Regions from separate parts of the Homo sapiens genome. Here region 1 is linked to region 2. Evidence: promoter capture Hi-C in human tissues and cell types (Jung and others, 2019). All regions are on one chromosome and are shown on one strand. Each heading gives the region's core, a stretch centred on a gene start or on the middle of the fragment in contact. The rest is flanking DNA. Distances are from core to core; before and after follow the strand shown. Region 1 has its middle 130 kb from the start of LINC02691. Region 2 holds the start of C14orf180 (chromosome 14 open reading frame 180).

Region 1 (3,205 bases), core at 168-2,667, 220 kb after region 2:
CCCTCCGGGTCCCTGCAGTGTGAATGGCCGTGTTTTGCAGGAGGGCTGCAGGGATGGTAGCTGCTGTCTATCTGGGAGCCACAGCAGGTGCTGGAGCCGGGGAGCCAGGAGAGTGGCTTGCACCATCTGGGCCTCTGCATGGTGGTGTGAGGGCTTAAGGTCAGGGCTGGGGGCCGGAGGCAGGGGGAGCTGTCAGGACAGGCTTCCCAGGCCTTGAACCCAACCTGATGCTGCAGACTCCCAACCTCTGGCCCAGATGGACACACATGGTTCTGCCTTCTAGGAGCCTGTGTCATGGCCACCAGCTGAGCTGGGGCCCAGACCTGCTTGCCGGACCTCACTCATTGGCCGTTCATCCCACAGGCTGCCCCATGTGGCCGGCAAACACACAGCTGTCCTCGCCCCTGCAGAGCCCCCAAAATCTCTGAGGAGGCACTGTACACCCGGAGGACAGGGGACAGAGTGGGTTTCCAGGCAGAGCGGAAATAAATGAATCCAAAACACAGCCCCGGACAAGATACCTCCCGCGGCCCCCCAGGCACGCGACCCCACTGCAGCTGCCCTCCCCAGCTCTGCCAGGGGCCGAGGGCCCCATGGGGGACCCTCTGGAAGCAGGGATGGCCCAAGGCCACTGCCCACTGAGAGGCTGCTTAGACGAGGGCAGGGAGCTGGCTGGCCCGGCAAGGGAGGGCATGTTCCCCATCCACTCAGCTACCTCGGCCCCAGGAGGAGGGGAGCTGGGGGCACAGGAGCTGGCACATCCCCACCTGACACCAGGTCCTCTCATCCCAGTGATGGCCCTGGAGGAAGCCGCTGAGCCCTCAGAACAGCAGGTCATCCTGAGTCCAGCATGGAGCCCTTGGAGCCGCAGGTCCGCCTGAGTCCAGCATGGAGAATGAGGCACTCCTTCATCCCTGCTTCCTGGACTTTCCATGGAGGTCACACTTCTGGTGAAGGGAGAGCCACCACCCTGTCACCACGATTCCAGTGGGCCAGGCCACTGCCCCCAATTCCAAGGCAAGAAGCAAATGTCAGGGGCCAGGGCCAGAGCCCAACACCAGGCTCATTCCTCTCAAGAGTCCACCCAGTGCCAAGTGAGCCCCTGCCCGGCCTGGCATCCCAGAGCAGGGTGCTCATCCCATGGCACAGATGGGAATGCCAAAGCCCACAGAGAGGCCCTGGCCCCCCACTGCCCTGTGCCCCCACCTCCTCATGCTCCTGAAAGACCTGGCCCGTGCCTGCAAGCGCCTGCCTCGGCTCCCAGACGAGAGGCTTGTCCTGCCACTCTCGTGCTCAAGAGCCACCCATGGCTCCCAGTGCCTGGTAAGCAGGTGGGGAGCACGAAGCCCCGTGTGCCCGCCACTCTCTGTACAGATGCTGATTTCCTCTGCACTCTGGGTTGTCTCCTTCCACACTGACAGCTGTGAGTTACTCCAGTATCCTCCCACATTTGCGGCTAAAGATCTATGATCATCAGATCCCCAAAGCCAGCGTCCCAGTTGTTCTGTCTGGACTTCAGGGAGGCCCTGGCACGCTGAGTCTGTGCCCAGTCCATTGTCGGCTCAGCCATCGTCAGTGTATTCTCCGCCCATGGAGTGCGCTAGGCCCATGGCCACTGTGCGGTGCCTTGCCTGGGGCTGATTCTATACAGAGCTTGACGGAAGCTTCCAGACTGGTTAATTACGGTCCTACCAAGTGGAGACAGGCTTCTCACCACTGCAGGACAGTGGCCCTGGGCCGAAGGAGTCCTGCGGCCTGTGTGGCGTTTAGTGACTGGCACACGGGTATGTAGGGACACTTCCAGGACGGGTTCCTGCACCGCCCACGCTTACCAGGGCTCTCACCTCCTGGGACTGCAGCGCTCTGCTGCGGCAACACTGTCCCTGCTCTAGTTTCCATCCAACTCCAGAGCTGCGGCACTGCAGGAGGCCTCTCCAGGGGCAGAGACGTGGGTCTGGGGTCCGGGGTCCAAGCCCAAGCCTGCCACTTCCCGGCCACACGTGGGCCTGGACTTTCACTCGCCCACAAAGCCAGGGTTCTGATGCTGCCCACAGGGCTACCGAGGTAGACATGATCCACGTAAGCCTCCGAGCACTGGCCAGCACGCAGTAGGTCCTCAAAATATGTGGCTCGAAGAACGTGCTCAGGAAGCTGGACCACGAGTGTCAGGCTGCATCCGCTGGGGCCCTGAGCCCTGCTATAGGACAGCCCCGGCCCTTGCAATTCACACTTGGCCCTCCTAGCTCTCGGCTCCTGTGGCCACACTCTCACTCTTGGGCCCTGTCTTTGACGGTGACCGCCCTCCAGCCAGTGCTTGGGTCTGCCGTGTCGTTCATTCCTGCATTCCCTTCTCTGGTGTTTTCCCTGTGCTACCAAGGACCAGGCCCTGGGGTCTCGGGAGCAAGACAGACGGGACCAGAGATGGTGATTGAGGCGCCCAGACCAGCATCTGCCTTGCTCCCCTGTGACCGCTGCATCAAACGTCTGCAGGCCGGGAGCTTACACTAGAAGTGCATTTTTTCAGGGCCTGGAGGTCAGAGGTCTGAAATCAGGCTGCCAGCAGGGGTGGCCGTCCACCACGAGTGCAAACCCCACAGAGCCTCCAGCCGCCCTGGAGGAGACTCACCCTCTGCTCCCTCTGGAGGCTCCAGGAGAGGCTGCTTCCTGCCTCTCCCAGCTTCCAGTGGCCCTGGGCACCCTTGGCTTGTGGCCACATCCTTCCAGTCTCTGCTTCCATCTTCACAGGGCCTCCTTCTCTGTGTCCAATCTCCCTCGGCTTTCCTTGTGTAAGGACACACGCCAGCCGTGGGATTTAAGGCCCACCCAGACGATCCAGGACGACCTCACCTCGAGATCCTTCACTCAAAGACCCTAGTTCCAGGTGAGACCACACCACTGGCTCCAGGCATTACGCTATGGCCATATCCTTGAGGGGCACCATCCAACCCCCCCGCAGCATGTGAGCGCCAGCTGTGCCTGGGATGGCCTCCTCGGTGCTCTCCAGGCCCAGCCTAAGCTGCACGGGGCTGCCTGCTGGCTTCCTGGGGTCCCACCGTGGCCAGAACCTTCCCTGCTATGTCCTTAGGGAGCCAGGCCTGCAGAAGACGCATCCAAGGGAGAATCAGGCCAGGCTTATGTTTCGTGCCCTGGAATATCCAGGAGCCCACCCAGCACCAAGGGGCAGCTGGCCACCTTCTGTTTACCC
Region 2 (2,936 bases), core at 137-2,636:
CACTGGAACCACGCTGGCAGCTCCCCAGACAACATGCGTTCTCGACTTAAGTAAGAGGGAGAACTTGTGGGGAGGCCCCTGGCTGGGCTGACCGCCCACTGGGCTTGCTCAGGTGCCTGCAGGCCCTACCAGGTAGGAACAGGAGCAGGAGCTGCCTGGTGGCCCCCTGAGGCCCCTCTCCATGCCTAGATGGGCCCTCACATCCCGAGGTGCAGTTAGGGCTCGAGGTAGCAGCAGTACCGGGTGATGGCTGCTCATCTGCTGGGTGCAGGGGCCACCCTAGGCCTCGAGAGCTCCAGACAGACAGGGCGGGGGACCCCCCCAGGCCCTTCCTCCCATATGTGGAATGGGGGCTGTTTGCCAACTGTCCAGGGCACTGCAAAGCTCAGTAGTGCCCAAGAAATGGCGTGGCGTCCAGTGCTGGGTGGGGGTCCCATGGCCACACAGGGCAGGACAGGGATTCCTTCTGACTGACGGCTCAGAAAAGAGCCAGTTCTCAGGGATTCCCAAACACTGAGAACTAGGCTTCAGTTACTGGAGTAACGAATCCATTCCTGCTAGGCTGGGCCTGCGTAGACTTGCCCTCGGAGGATGCCCCCCACCAAGGCCCTTCAGGGAAGGCTGGCTGGGTTCATGCCTGGCACGGCTGCCTGCATTCCCCTGAGAGTGCAGCCCCTTCTCCCACTGCCCAGGCTGTTTCGCGCAACATCAGGTGCCCTTTGGAAGCTCCTGTGTGGCCAGGAGCACCCCCGCTGCTAAGTTTGAAGTGGCCGTGTTCCCTGCTTCCCCCAGAGGCGGCCTGGCCTCAGTGTGGACACAGGGCCGGCCTGGGACTGTCTCCGTTTTAGGGAAACCATCAGTCCCAGGAGAAGGGGGAAGGGTGGCCACTCTGGAGCTTGTTCAGGTCACTCAGGATCATCAGTGTGTGCTCTGCCCAGTCTCTGCCCACACCTGCTGCCCAGCTGGGGCAGGTTCCCCACCTGCACCTGCCTTTGGCAATCTCTCCGCTCTGCCCAGTCTCTGCCCACACCTGCTGCCCAGCTGGGGCAGGTTCCCCACCTGCACCTGCCTTTGGCAATCTCTCCGCTCTGGCATCTTCATACCCAAGCAGGAAGTGAGCCCCCTCTCCCTGGGGCTGGAACTCACCTGGTTCCCTCCTGGCTCCCCGAGGGACAGAAACAGGCTCTTCGGGATCTCCCTGTGGGGCACAGTCCAGTGAGGTCCTGGACCCTCTTGGCCGGCAGCACCCCTCCCAGGCCCTTGAGAGTTGAGCCTCGGGCAGAACTGCAGGGCACACAGGTGAACGGGCCAGGCCCGCCCAGGCCTCCTTCCCGAGGGCTCTGATCTGGAGGCGCCACCGCCCGCTGGCAGGGCCGGGTCTGTTGTGGCCTTCGTCCCGTCTCCAGCCCTCTCTGCTGGATCGCAAAGCTGGGCCAGCTGGCAGCGGCCAGGCTATAATTACCTCTCCCCTTTGGCAGAAATAGCAGTGAACCCGAGGACAGGCCGCTGGCCCCGGAGCAGAAGGGGGTGGCTGTTTCCCAGGCCCCCGGTGGACAACAGACCATGATTTCAGATAAGACCAGAGTTTGCTGCTGTTCCTACCCCTCCCGGCCCAAATGTGCCCCCTCCCAGGTCAATTCCAGAGCTGTGCAGCTCTTGGAAAAACCTATGGATTGGAATTCGGGGCAGAGTGGGAGAGGGAGGGCACTGTGGGGCTGCGGGAGGTGAGGTGATCACAGAGTCCAGCCTCCAATAAGACCCTGACCCAGCATGGGGCCTCCGTGGTGGCGAGAGTGCCCGCCCTGCCCCAGGCCCCTGTGCCCCTGTGAGTCCTGACCTGGGGTTGCCAGAGGGAGAGGCAAAGAATGGGTCCCAAGCTGCCGTTTTGGGGCACACTGGCCGACCCTCGATATTGCCCTGGCAGGAAGGGGCAATGTATGGGTCAGTGAGCGATGGCAGGGGTGAGGGATCAGCCTTTCTCAGGGTCTGTCCTGGGTGGGCGTCCAACTGCCCTGCCTGGCGCTGCTGAGTCTGCCCCTCATTTGTAGGTGAAAGTGCAGCTCAGAGAGTTGAGGCACCCTGTCCAGAGTCACACAGCCCGGAGGTGGTAGCCTGGCTCAGGCTTGGTGGCCCGTCCTCGCCAGCCCCCCCGTCTGCTGGTGCATGTAAAGGCAGGTCTGAAAGAGGCTGGTGAGGGCATCACTGGCGCAGGGCACCACCACATGTGGGCAGACCCCTGCCTGGTTTGTGGGGCTTTGACCTGTTTCAGGGGACTGCTGGAGGAGGTGTGGAGAGACCCGTGTTTCTCCATTAGGAATGGGGGTGCATCTCCCTTGGGTAAAGCTACAGGACCCCTGGGAGCCCAGGGTGTGCCAGGCTGGGGGACAGTGTGCACAGAGGGTGACTGCTCAGGGCCAGCCGTGGGGCTGCATGGACACAGAGTCCTGGAACCCACCGTCAGAGCATGAGCAACGCAGCCACTGGGATGGGGTTCAGCAGACCGGCCCTCCCCTCACTGCCGTCTTCAGTACAGGGCATGGGGGAGCAAACTTTTCTCTTACAGGGCCATATGGCACACAGTGCGCTCTGTGTCTACACAAACGGGGTGGGCCAGATTGGCAGGAGGGCCTTGGCTCGCTGACGCTTGTTCCAGGGAGAGCACTGAGGAAGGCTGGGTGGTCCTGCTGGCAGTCTGGCTTCCTGGGAAGAGTGAGGTCCTGTAGCCAGACAAGACCCTCTCCCGCCTGTGCCCAATCTGGGCGCTTATCCTTGGCTTCCCAGGGCTGGAGCTGCTCCTCCCAGATTTCAGAGGTCAGGCTGCACTGCCCGAGGTCGGGGGGCTCCGGGACAACTCCTTCCTGACCCTTCTCATTGACAGAGGGGAGGGAACGGTCAGCCCACAGACCTTGGGTGCCGCCCCCTCTCTGTGCTCCCTG

The links. The method cuts DNA at HindIII sites, captures the fragments that hold promoters and counts their contacts. A contact is called where the count stands out against the background at its distance.
Region 1: a fragment that was not itself captured here is called in contact with the fragment with the promoter of C14orf180 in region 2 in 1 of the 25 tissues and cell types used here (lymphoblastoid cells).

Annotation. Positions count from the first base shown.
Region 1 is chr14:104,356,618-104,359,822 of GRCh38, reverse strand. No RefSeq gene overlaps it. Among named protein-coding and RNA genes, the nearest start is that of LINC02691, 130 kb to the right of the region's middle. The HindIII fragment of the contact is 6,801 bases long and covers 1-3,205 here.
Region 2 is chr14:104,578,214-104,581,149 of GRCh38, reverse strand. C14orf180 (chromosome 14 open reading frame 180) reads right to left here and starts at 1,386. Exons shown (of 5, transcript NM_001008404.3): 1 at 1,147-1,386. The HindIII fragment of the contact is 18,385 bases long and covers 1-2,936 here.